Regions from separate parts of the Homo sapiens genome. Here region 2 is linked to region 1. The links are contacts of gene promoters, found by promoter capture Hi-C in human tissues and cell types (Jung and others, 2019). All regions are on one chromosome and are shown on one strand. Each heading gives the region's core, a stretch centred on a gene start or on the middle of the fragment in contact. The rest is flanking DNA. Distances are from core to core; before and after follow the strand shown. Region 1 holds the start of NT5C2 (5'-nucleotidase, cytosolic II). Region 2 overlaps WBP1L (WW domain binding protein 1 like).

The links. Contacts are between HindIII fragments. The study calls those that stand out against the background at their distance.
Region 2: a fragment that was not itself captured here is called in contact with the fragment with the promoter of NT5C2 in region 1 in 1 of the 25 tissues and cell types used here (hippocampus).

The regions. Positions count from the first base shown.
Region 1 is chr10:103,188,962-103,195,142 of GRCh38, reverse strand. It overlaps NT5C2 (5'-nucleotidase, cytosolic II), which reads left to right and starts at 1,871. Exons shown (of 19, transcript NM_001351169.2): 1 at 1,871-1,907. RefSeq lists a silencer at 1,777-2,056 and enhancers at 1,755-2,441, 2,442-3,130. The HindIII fragment of the contact is 10,406 bases long and covers 1-5,043 here.
Region 2 is chr10:102,756,857-102,763,037 of GRCh38, reverse strand. The region is part of intron 1 of WBP1L (WW domain binding protein 1 like); the gene reads right to left. Among named protein-coding and RNA genes, the nearest start is that of WBP1L, 16 kb to the right of the region's middle. The HindIII fragment of the contact is 5,932 bases long and covers 1-5,157 here.

The sequences.
Region 1 (6,181 bases), core at 622-3,121:
AAACACCGTAAGAAATTAATACAAAAGTACAAAGAAGAAACCACCCCATCTTATCACTGAGAGAAAACAACATAATCAATTACATATTTCCCTGTAGTCTTTTGCGTGTGCAGTTTTTTTTCACAGTTGTGATCACATTCATTTGTGTGTGTCTCTATATTTGTTTTTCTCTCAGTACCATAGTGTTTAGACACAAACCCTGGCCTTTTTTCGTTTCTTCTTTTTTTTTTTTTTTGGAGATGGAGTCTCCCTCTGTCGCCCAGGCTGGAGTTCAGTGGCGTGATCTTGGCTCACTGCAACCTCCGCCTTCCGGGTTCAAGCGATTCTCCTGCCTCAGCCTCCCGAGTAGCTGGGACTACAGGTGCGTGCCACCATGCCCAGCTAATTTTTGTATTTTTAGTAGAGATGGGGTTTCGCCATGTTGGTCAGGCTGGTCTTGAACTCCTGACCTCAAATGATCCACCTGCCTTGGCTTCCCAAAGTGATGGGATTACAGGTGTGAGCTACCACGCCCCGCCACCCTGGCCTTTTTTCAAATGCACTTGGTTTAAAGATTGTGTTATGCCAGCTTCCAACCCCTATTCCTCTTTTCCATATATCCTGAGAAATTTAGAAGGTGAGGGGCCCAAGGTCTATCCTTAGCTGACCTGAAGCGAAGTTGGCTGAGAAGCACAAGAAGGGGTAGAAGTGCTCTGGCGGAGCACTTATTAAAAAGACGCGGAGGTTTTGGTTGACTGCAAGCCCAATATGAGTCAACAGTATGGGTGCCAAGAACTTTATCGCAGGAGTGCAAAGCGATAGGTCCCAAAAGGAGGAAGCTATAGTCCTGCTTTGCTCTGATGATACCACAAACATTTGGTTCAGTCTTGGGTGATGTATTCTAAAGAAATCACAGTCAAATCTACCATTTGCGTGAGAGGGATAAAGACCCTCAAAACCAGGGCAGAGGAGGAACAATGGAAGGAACGGGAGACACTGATGTGGAATGAGAAGACCTTGGGCAGAGGTGATAGAAGTAAAGTATCTGAAAAGTCAAAGGTCCAGGAGAGATTAGACGTTTGTTCTCTGTGGCTCCAAGGCATCGAATTTCGGCCCTGAGAGTGGAAGTTTAGACACATTTTCTCACTGGTGAGAGCTGCTCGGACCAAGGAATTCAGTCCTCTGGAAATAGCTAGCTGCTTTTGCGGAGTCTTCCTGCTGAGTTGCTGGTGGTGGGGTGAACATTTATTGAGTGCTTACTGTGTGCCAGGATCCTGCTGAGGGCCTCACCTATATTGTGTGATTTCATCCCGTCAACACCCTTTGATGTGGGGACTGTTGTTCCCTATCCTGGTGCTACAAATGTGGGCACCAGGTATAGGAGGTCAGGTACCTCGCCCGAGGTTACAGTTTGTAAGTGGTGGTACTGGGACTGGAACTCGTTCTGACAAACTTCAAAGCTGGTGTTTTTAGCCATCAAGGGGATTCGAGGGTGCCATGGGGGTGTGGACGCATGAGGGGCCTTGAGGTCCATTAGACCAAAACATTCTGTGACTGGGAAAAAGGATGCCCTCTCCTCCCAAGGAAAAGCTTCTTCTGAATGAGACACAGTGGAGAGGTTAGCCCAGGGCCAGGCTGAGGGGCGCAGGCAGAATGCCAAGGGATGGAGACCCTCAGAAGGGCAAAGCCGGTGTTCCATCGTTTGAAGATCTCCAGACCCGCGGGACAGACAGACGCAGCGCGGTCAGGGAGCGTCGGCTTCGCCGAACTCTGCGGCGGAGCTGGGGGACGGAACAGCGCGCCGGTCCCTGGCCGGGCGCGAGCAGAGGGGCGGCGCGGGGCGGTGCCGGGCGGCGGGGGCGGGGAGGGCGCGCGTTGAGGCGGCTGCGGCAGTTGCGCGCTGGGATTGTTGCGGTGCGCTGGAGCCGGTGAGTGCGGCGGGCCCCGTGGGCGGGCGGGGAAGGAGCGGGCGAACGGGGAGCTAGGTGGGGAGGTGCGCGGCCGAACACGCGACCCCAGGGTAGCGGCCGCCGCCTGCCCCCGCCCCCGGCCCCCAGGGACCATGGCCCCAAGGCCCCTCTCCTTAGGCCGAGTCCCCGCCAGCGCGCTCGCGGACGCCGCACGCCTCCCAACTCCCTCGGTGCGGCCCCCGCCCCACGGCAGCCCCTTCCTCCGCGCCGCCGCGACGCCTCCGGCCCACGTCACGCTCGCGCCATTGTTTCCCAGCCGCCGGCTCGCTGGGACCCCGCCTCAGCCTCCCAGCGCGGCCGTTCGCCGCGTTCCGCCCTCTTCCCCCCTTTCCTCACGCTGGTGGTAGCCCTTTCCTCAGTCCTGCTGACGTCCTCCAGCTGATTCCAGGCTGTTCCCGGCCACCCCTGAGGCCGTCTTTTCGCTTCTTGTAAAAGCCTCCCCGCCCCCAGAGCTCCTCGGTCGCCTCCCGAGAAGCCAAGGGGCCTCTGGTGGAGCGCCAGGTTGACAGCGTTTTAGCAGGACCGCGAGAAACGGCCAGCTCGTTTGCCACACGCCCGTGTGCAACACTTCCTGGAAAGGTCACAGCGAATTGCAAGCCGCCACAAAAAACATCCGGACAGCTCCTGGTCAGGGGGCTGAGCCGTTCAGTGGCGGCCTATTCTTCTCCTTTTTTCGGGGCTCCTGAAATCGGAGAGGGCGAGATGCCGATCTGAGGCCTGAACCCTTAGTTTAAGAAAAACGTTTTGGGGGTTTGACTCCGGCAGGCCACAGCTTCTAAAAGCAGCAGGTAGAGGCTGCTGTCCGAATCGACGTTTTCCTGGGCTTTCACCTTTAGGGCCTTGATGTTTGAGGGGGGTCGTGCTCTGAAGTACAGCGCCCCGAAATGACTAGTCACCATTACAGGGGGGTGTGTGCGCGCCCGTCCAGGGGCCGATGAGTTCTTCAGGATTGAGCTGTACTTGGTTCCCAGTGTCTGTAGACTATTCATTTCGCCTCTTCAAGCAACGAATGCAAACTACTGACCATAATGTGAAAGGGAGAATATTGAAACTGTGTCATTTACCATGAAAACTTAGTGTTATTGCGTAGAGAAGGCTTTAGGTTTCAAAAATATTTACCACATGGCTTTTCAACAACGGTTAGAATTTATCCAGATGAAGACATCCAGGCCTGAAAGGGTGAAGTTCGAAAAGAGAAAAAAAATAGGTGTGAGCTGAGAGTGGAAAAAAAAAAAAGAACAAAAAAGGTTAAGTTCAAGAAAACATAGCTGGTTAGTAATTAAAATAAAAACTCCACATGCAGGGTTGATACTAGCATACACAGACTTATTTCTGAAGTGCATTTCCATTGCAGTGTAAACCACTACATTTCAACAGTATAGGTAGCTGCATTACTCTCATTGACCCAGAATTAAGGTTTTAGGATTTAGTAACCAACAAATCTGTAAAATAAGGTGGAGGGGCGCGGGGTGGAGTGGGGGGGGTTCTGAAGGAGATGTTATGCAAGATTCCTTTCAGTTCAAAGGTTTGATGCCATTGTATGAAAATTTACCATCAGCTACAAGTTTTCAGAAGTTTGTAATTGTAAGAAGATTTATATAGATAGTATTCCCTTATAGTACCTGCCACCCTTAACCAGAAGACATCACATCTTCCTAAAGAAAGCCAGATTACAATAGAATGTTAGGCACAGAGGTGCTCATTAATCTTTCTCTAGGCTATTTCTCCTGTTTTATGGGGAAAGAGGAGTACATAAAACACAGGTTTTTTTTTTTAAGTATTTCCTCTCTCTCTCTTTTTTTTTTTTTTTTGAGACGGAGCTTTGCTCTTGTTGGCCAGGCTGGAGTGCAATGGCATGATCTTGGCTCATTGCAACCTCCACCTCCCGGGTTCAAGCAGTTCTCCTGCCTCGGCCTCCCGAGTAGCTGGGATTACAGGCATGCGCCACCACGCCTGGCTAATTTTGTAGAGACGGGGTTTCTCCAAGTTGGTCAGGCTGGTCTCGAACTCCTGACCTCAGGTGATCTGCCCGCCTCGGCCTCCCAAGTACTGGGATTACAGGCTTGAGCCACTGCGTCCGACCCTGTTGCTTAATTCTCTTACCAAAAGCTTAATTCAGTGAAATAGTAAATAACAACAAATCCCCAAAAACAAAAACCCACAACTTTGTCATGTTATGACTGTGCTCTTTTAAAGTACTTACATAGACTGGTTTTTATCTAGTACACTTGCTGTGTACATATTATTTGGGATTTTGCTCTTACCAATATTTCTGGGATGTCCATGTATTTAGAGAATTCATCTAATCTTCATTAGTAGATGCTCTCTAATGTGCCCCGGTAGTCAACAATGCCTGGCACACAGGCTCTTAGTAAATTTTTGTTGAATAAGTGTTGTAATGTTTTGAGGTTTTTAGACATTTAACACAAAATACTAACTATCACAAGGCATATGTTGAGTGACGTGAGCAGTAAAGGCAGTCATACTTTCAGCCAGGAGACATTGCATTTATTTAAGGGCCCGGATTTTGTAGTCTGGCTTGCTACTTAACATCATGCAACCTCGGGGAACTCAGTTAACCTTAGACAAGCTCACTCAGTTTCTCTCACCTTGAGAAGGGAAAAATAGAACAAATTTTACAGAGTTATGTGGATTAAATAGAATAATTCAGTTGAAGTGATACTGGCACACATTAAGTTCTCTATAAATGTTAGTTTTTTTTGCTCAGAGTGAAGGAATATTAATGTAGCTTGGTGGGATCAGGAAAAACAGTAACACTTCAGAGTAGGGAGAAGATGCTGAAGTGGATGTATTGAGGGTATGATTAATAGATTGTTCTCACTAAAAGGGTTTGGTAGAGCAGTAGTCTGAGATAAAACTGGAAAGAGAAATTCTGGTAAGCAGTTTACAAGTATGCTACATGGATTCTTTGCAATTAGAGCGGAGTGAATGACCACCTGAGGTCAGGAGTTTGAGACCAGCCTGGCCAACATGGTGAAACCCCATCTCTACTAAAAATACAAAAATTAATCAGGCGTGGTAGCGCATGCCTGTAATCCCAGCTACTTGGGAGGCTGAGGCAGGAGAATCGCTTGAACCCAGGAGGCGGAGGTTGCAGTGAGCTGAGATTGCGCCACGCACTCCAGCCTGGGTGACAAGAGTGAAACTCTGTCTCAAAAAAAAAAAAAAAAAAAAAGAAAGCCACAAAATTAATGCGGCAAACCGGCCAGGTGCGGTGGCTCACGCCTGTAATCCCAGCACTTTGGGAGGTCGAGGCAGGTGGATCACCTGAGGTCAGGAGTTCGAGACCAGCCTGGCCAACATGGTGAAACCCCGTCTCTACTAAAAATATAAAAAATTAGCTGGGCGTGATGGCGCCCACCTGTAGTCCCAGCTACTCAGGAGGCTGAGACACGAGAATCGCTTGAACCTGGGAGGCAGAGGTTGCAGTGAGCCTATATCGTGCCACTGCACTCCAGCTTGGGCGACAGAGCATCTCAAAAAAAAAAAATTCAGTAAACAGTAAAAGAAAAAAGTTAAAAAAATTATGACAGTCTTAATCTTTGTTTTTTTTTTCGTTTTTTTTTTTGAGATGGAGTCTCGCTCTGTCGCCAGGCTGTAGTGCAGTGGTGCGATCTCGGCTCACTGCAGCCTCCGCTTCCTGGGTTCAAGCGATTCTCCTGCCTCAGCCTACCGAGTAGCTAGGACTAAAGGCGTGTGCCACCACGCCCAGCTAATTTTTGTATTTTTAGTAGAGATGGGGTTTCACCATGTTGGCCAGGATGGTCTCAATCTCTTTACCTCATGATCCGTCCGCCTTGGCCTCCCAAAGTGCTGCGATTACAGGCGTGAGCTACCACGCCCGGCCCTTAATTTTAATTGTTAAAATTTGATAAAGAAGGTGGGTAGTAGACATATCAAATGATCATTATATTATTTTCTGTGTGTTTGAAATATTTCACAGTATTTTAAGATGAACCTAAAATAAAACATTAAAGAAACTCCATTAAACTAATGAGCCTATAAAAATATATATCCCACTGGGCATCTGTAATGAAAACATGCTAATACTCAGCAAGCTTACTGATTTTTTTTTTTAAGCCGTTAAATTTCAGGCATCAGATTTCAGTCTTCTCTTTCCAAGCACATAGTACAAGCAGGCTCTTTCATCCCACACTCTTTTTTTTTTTCCGAGACGGAGTCTCACTTTGTTGCCCAGGCTGGCTCGATCT
Region 2 (6,181 bases), core at 942-3,441, 430 kb after region 1:
AGACAGGGTTTGACCATCTTGCCCAGGCTGGTCTCAAACTCCTGGGCTCAAGTGATCCTTCCACCTTGGCCACCCAAAGCACTGGGATTACAAGCGTGAGCCACTGCACCCAGCCTCAGTCTCTAAATTCTATGTTCCATTTCTCCCTCAGCAGCCTTGCTCACCTGCCCTGAAACCCCCAGTACTGTACCGGAAGGGTAGGCATAGTCAGCCAAACACAGGATAGGGACCAACAGCTTGCATCCCCGAAGAGCTGGAAGAGGAGAAGATATGCTGGCAGGGTCTCTTCATTTTTCCACGTTTCTCTGAACATTTATGCAATCTCAGATAAGAGTAGGATTTTCCCCAAAATTCTCTCTTCACTAAAAATTGAGGGCAAACGTCGTAAGTTAATCTTTCACTTTATCCACTAAGCAAAGGTTGGAAATGGATGTGTGTGTCAAAGAAAATGAAAGACCAAGTTTTGCAGGGTGGAAGAAAGGTTATGGTTAAAACGCCACTACTAGACCTGTTCAAGTAAGACTGAGAATGCTGGGATTGGAAGAGCACTTTTGATTCTCATGGGATTAAGGGTACTGTTGGGAGTAACATTTTTTCAAGTAGAGGAACTTCCTGAGGGCTAATTACTTAAGAAAACTGAAGAACTGTCATAATTAGCTGAATTTTGTAGTAATATTTTTATTCTTAGATCTTATTTAAATTCTCAAGTGCAAGATCCTATCCTACAACATTAAGGGATTATTGTCAAGTTTTCTGGGTATGCTATGGGATGACTAATGTTGAGGAACATTGTTATCTTTCAGAGATTCATTTTTTATTTATTTTTACTTCTTCATTTTTTGAGACAGGGTCACCCAGGCTGGAGTGGTGCGACCACTAAAAGATGGCCAGCTGTAGCGGCTCCTGTCTGTAATCTTAGCACTTTGGGAAGCTGAGGTGGGAAGAATGCTTGAGGCCAGGAGTTCTAGACCAACGTAAGCAACATAGGGAGACTCCGCCTCTATAAAAAAATTGTTTTAAAAATTAGCTAGATGTGGTGGCACACACTTGCAGTCCCAGCTACTGGAGAGGTTAAGGTAGGGGGATTGCTTGAGCTCAGGAGTTTGAGGCTACAGTGAGCTGTGATCACGCCACTGCACTCCAGCCTGGGCAACAGCAAGACACTGTCCCTAAAAAATTAAACATTAAAGGCCTGGCACAGTGGCTCACACTTATAATCCCAGCACTTTCGGAGGCCGAGGTGGGTGGATCACCTGAAATCTGGAGTTCGAGACAAGCCTGGCCAACATGGTGAAACCCCATCTCTACTAAAAATACAAAAAATTAGGCCGAGGTGGGTGTATCACGAGATCAGGAAATTGAGACCATCCTGGCTAACACAGTTAAACCCTGTCTCCACTAAAAATACAAAAAATTAGCTGGGCATGGTGGAAGGTGCCTGTAATCCCAGCTACTCAGAAGGCTGAGGCAGGAGACTCACTTGAACCTGGGAGGCGGAGGTTGCAATGAGCCAAGATTGTACCATTGCACTCCAGCCTGGGCAACAAGAGTGAAACTCCGTCTCAAAAAAAGAAAAAATTAAACATAAAAAAATTTAAGGCTGAGTGTAGTGGCTCACGCCTGTAATCCCAGCACTTTGGGAGGCCGAGGCAGGCAGATTGCCTGAGGTCAGGAGTTCCAGACCAGCCTGATCAACACAGGAAAACCCCATCTCTACTAAAAATACAAAAATTAGCCAGGCATGGTGGTAGGTGCCTGTAATCCCAGCTACTTGAGAGGCTGAGGCAGGAGAATCACTGGAACCCAGGAGGTAGAGGCTGCAGTGAGCCAAGATCGCGCCACTGCACTCCAGCCTGGGCAGCAGAGTGAGACTCCGTCTCAAAAAAAAGAAAAGAAAAGAAAAAAAAAAAAAAAAACAGCCTGGCCAACATGGTGAAACCCTGTCTCTACCAAAAAACACAAAAAATTAAAAAATAAAAAAAAATTAGCCAGGTGTGGTGGCACACACTTGTATTCCCAGCTACTAAGGAAGCTGAGGAAGGAGAATCACTTGAACTCGGGAGGCAGAGGTTGCAATGAGCCGAGATTGTGCCACTGCACTCCAGCCCAGATGACAGAGACTCCATCTCAAAAAAAAGTGGGGGCAAAACAGAACGGGAGAAAACATTTGCAATTTATATATTGGATAAAAGATTCATATAGATGTCCTAACTGTGTGACTGTTCAGAAGCTGAACTGTAAGCATATGCACTAAGACTCCCCAAACGAGCGGGGAGCCTTCTCTGACCACATGGGCCTCTTATCACAGAATGGCTGGCCTCAGAGCAGTCTCTGGGCAATGCTGATGGAAATAAGGAAGACTCGGCCAGGCACGGTGGCTCACGCCTGTAATCCCAGCACTTTTGGAGGCTGAGGCAGGCGATCACCTGAGCTCAGGAGTTCGAGACTAGCCTGACCAACATAGAGAAACCCCGTCTCTACTAACAATACAAAATTAGCAGGGCGTGGTGGTGCATGCCCGTAATCCCAGCTACTCGGAAGGCTGAGGCAGGAGAATCGCTTGAACCCGGGAGGCGGAGGTTGAGTTGAGCCAAGATCGTGCCATTGCACTCCAGCCTGGGCTACAAGAGCAAAACTCCACCTCAAAAAAAAAAAAAAAAAGAAAGAAAGAAAGAAAGAAAGAAACAAGGAAGGCTCAGAGAGGTTAAGTGGCCCAGGGTCACAAGACTAGGCAGGAACATAGCCAGGTCTGGAAATGCCAGAGCCCTGACCGAGCCCAGTTTAAAAGAAAATCTCACCCTGGGCATCACTCACTGGGAAGAGCTCTGGCCCCCGAGTCAGATAAGGGTAAATGGACAAAGGATTGAATAGAAATTTCTCCAAGGAAGATACACAAATGGCCAATAAGAACAGGAAAAATATTTGATATTACTAGTCATTAGGGAAATGCAAATCAAAATCACAATGAGAAACTACTTCACACCCACTAGCATGGCTGTAATTAAAAAGGCAGACCATAACAAGTGTTGGAGAAATTGAAACTCTCATACATTGCTGGTGGGGGTGTAAAATGGTGCAGCTGCTTCAGAAAAGTCTGGAAGTCTCTCAAAAAGTTAAACATAGCATTACCAAATAACCCAGCAATTCCACTACTAGGTATATACCCAAGATAATTAAAAACAAGTCCACATAAAAACTTGTACATCAAGTCAGGCAGAGTGGCATGTGCCTGTAGTTGCAGCTACTCAGGAGGCTGAGGCAGGAGGATTCGCTTGAGCCTGGGAGTTGGAGGCTGTAGTGAGCTATGATCTTTCCTGTGAATAGCTTACTCCCCAGCCTGGGCAATATAGTAAGACCCCCATCTCTACAACAAACAAACAAAAAAACTTGTACACCAACGTTCACAGCAGCATTATTCATAATAGTCCCAAACTGGAAACAGCTCAAATGTTCATCAATTGATGAATAAATAAAATGGAGTATATCTATAAAATGGAGTATTAATTTGTAGGCAAAGAGTACCCAGGTGCCAAGGCAAGAGACTGAAGGCACAAACTATTTCAGTATAATAAAGAAAACAGAATAAGAATAGTCATAATACAAATTAGATACAGAGATGATCATGGACAATTATCAATCATTATTATAAACATTATTAATCATTAGCTTTTAATGTTACTTTTTGTTGCATTACTAATATAACCTAGGAATAACCGGCAGGTATAGGGTCAGGTGCTGAAGGGACATTGTGAGAAGTGACCTAGAAGGCAAGAGGTGAGCCTTCTGTCATGCCCGCATAAGGGCCGCTTGAGGGCTCCTTGGTCAAGCGGTAACGCCAGTGTCTGGGAAGGCACCCGTTACTTAGCAGACCGCGAAAGGGAGTCTCCTTTCCTTGGAGGAGTCAGGGAACACTCTGCTCCACCAGCTTCTTGTGGAAGGCTGGATATTATCCAGGCCTGCCCACAGTCATCCGGAGTCCTAAACCCCTCCCTGTGGTGCTGTGCTTCAGTGGTCACGCTCCTTGTCCACTTTCATGCTCCTCCCGTACTCCTGGTTCCTCTTTGAAGTTCGTAGTAGATAGCGGTAGAAGAAATAGTGAAAGTCTTAAAGTCTTTGATCTTTTCTTTGTAAGTGCAGAGAAGAAAACGCTGACGTATGCTGCCTTCTCTCTCTGCTCTGGCTACCTAAAAGGAAGGGCCCCCTATCCTGTAAGCACGTGACCTGCTTCACCTTGTCAACCACTTAGAAGACTGACCCTCCTTACCCTGCCCCCTTGTCTTGTATGCAATAAATCTCAGCAAGCCCAGCTGCTCGGGGCCACTACCGGTCTCTGCATCTTGATGGTAGTGGTCCCCCAGGCCCAGCTGCTTTCTCTTTATCTCTTTGTCTTGTGTCTTTATTTATTACAATCTCTCGTCTCCGCACACAGGGAGAACACCCGCTAAGCCCCATAGGGCTGGACCTACATTAATTGACCATAAAAAGGTATGAAGTATTGATACATGCTACAACATGGATGAACCTTGAAAACATGCTAAGTAAAGAAAACCAGTCATAAAAGACCACATGGTGTATGGTTCCATTCATATGAAATGTCCAGAATAGATAAATCCATAAAAACAGGAAGTAGATGAGTGGTTGCCAGGGACTGGAGGGAAGAAAATAAGGGGAATGAATGCTAATGGCTATAAGGCTTCTTTTTGGAGTGATGAAAATAGTCTAAAATTAAGATAGCGGTGATGGTGGCTCACCTTGTGGATATATTAAAAACCACTTAATTAATACCCTTGAAAATGGTGAATGTTATGGTCTGTGAATTAGATCTTAATAAAACTGTTACTAAAAAAAAAAAGGGCTGTGCATGGTGGCTCACGCCTGTAATCCCAGTACTTTGGGAGGCCGAGGCGGGTGGATCACATGAGGTCAGGAGTTCGAGACCAGTCTGGCCAACATGGGGAAACCCCGTCTCTACTAAAAATACAAAAATTAGCCAGGCGTGGTAGCGGGCGCCTGTAGTCCAGCTACTCAGGAGGCTGAGGCAGGGGAATTGCCTGAACCTGGGAAGCGGAGGTTACAGTGAGCCGAGATCGTGCCATTGCACTTCAGCCTGGGTGACAGAGTGAGACTCTGTCTCAAAAAAAAAAAAAAAAGGGGGGGGGGGAGGGCAGGTACAGTGGCTCATGCTGTAATCCCAGCACTTTGGGAGGCCGAGGCAGGAGGATCACTGGAGGTCAGGAGTTCAAGACCAGCTTGGTCAACACAGTGAAACCCAGTCTGTACTAAAAATACAAATATTAGCTGGGCATAATGGTGCACGCCTATAGTCCCAGCTACTAAGGAGGCTAAGGTGGGATGATCGCTAGAACTCAGGAGGTCAGGCTGCCATGAACTATGATCATGCCACTGCACTCCAGCCTGGGTGACACAGGGAGAGCTTGTATCAACAAAAAAAAAAAAAAAAAAAAAAAGGCTCAGAAACCATCTTCCCCTGAGAACAGGAAGTGCCAAATGGAGGTTGGGGACAGAAGTTAAGGATCCCCCTCACTGCAGCACAGTACTGTGTATGAGAGCAGACAGAGCCACATGTGGTCTAGCCCTGTGGTCAAGATGGGTGACGACCCCCATACTTGACAAACAGTGCCCATCCGCCTTGGCGGTGACCCCATCACTCTTCTCACTCAAGGGCACGATGATGTGCAAACAAGAATAATAGTATCGCTGGGTGCGGTGACTTGTGCCTGTAATCCCAGCTACTTGGGATGCTGAGGCAGAAGCACTTGAGGCCAGGAATTCAAGACCAGCCTGGGGAACATAGCAAGACCCTGTCTCTATAAAAAATTTAAAAATTGGGCTGGGTGTGGTGGCTCACATCTGTAATCCCAGCACTTTGAGAGGCTAAGATGGATGGATCATTGAGGACAGGAGTTTGAGACCAGCCTGACCAACATGGCAAAACCTTGTCTCTATTAAAAACACAAAAAAATTAGCTAGGTGTGGTGGCAAACGTTGGTAATCCCAGCTACTCATGGGGCTGAGGCCCGAGAATTGTTTAAACCCAGGAGGCAGAGACTGCAGTGAATTGAGATTGTGCCACTGCACTCCAGCCTGGGCAACAGATCGAGACTCTGTCTCAAAGATACAGAGACTCGCTCTGTTGCCCAGGCTGGTCTCGAACTCCTGG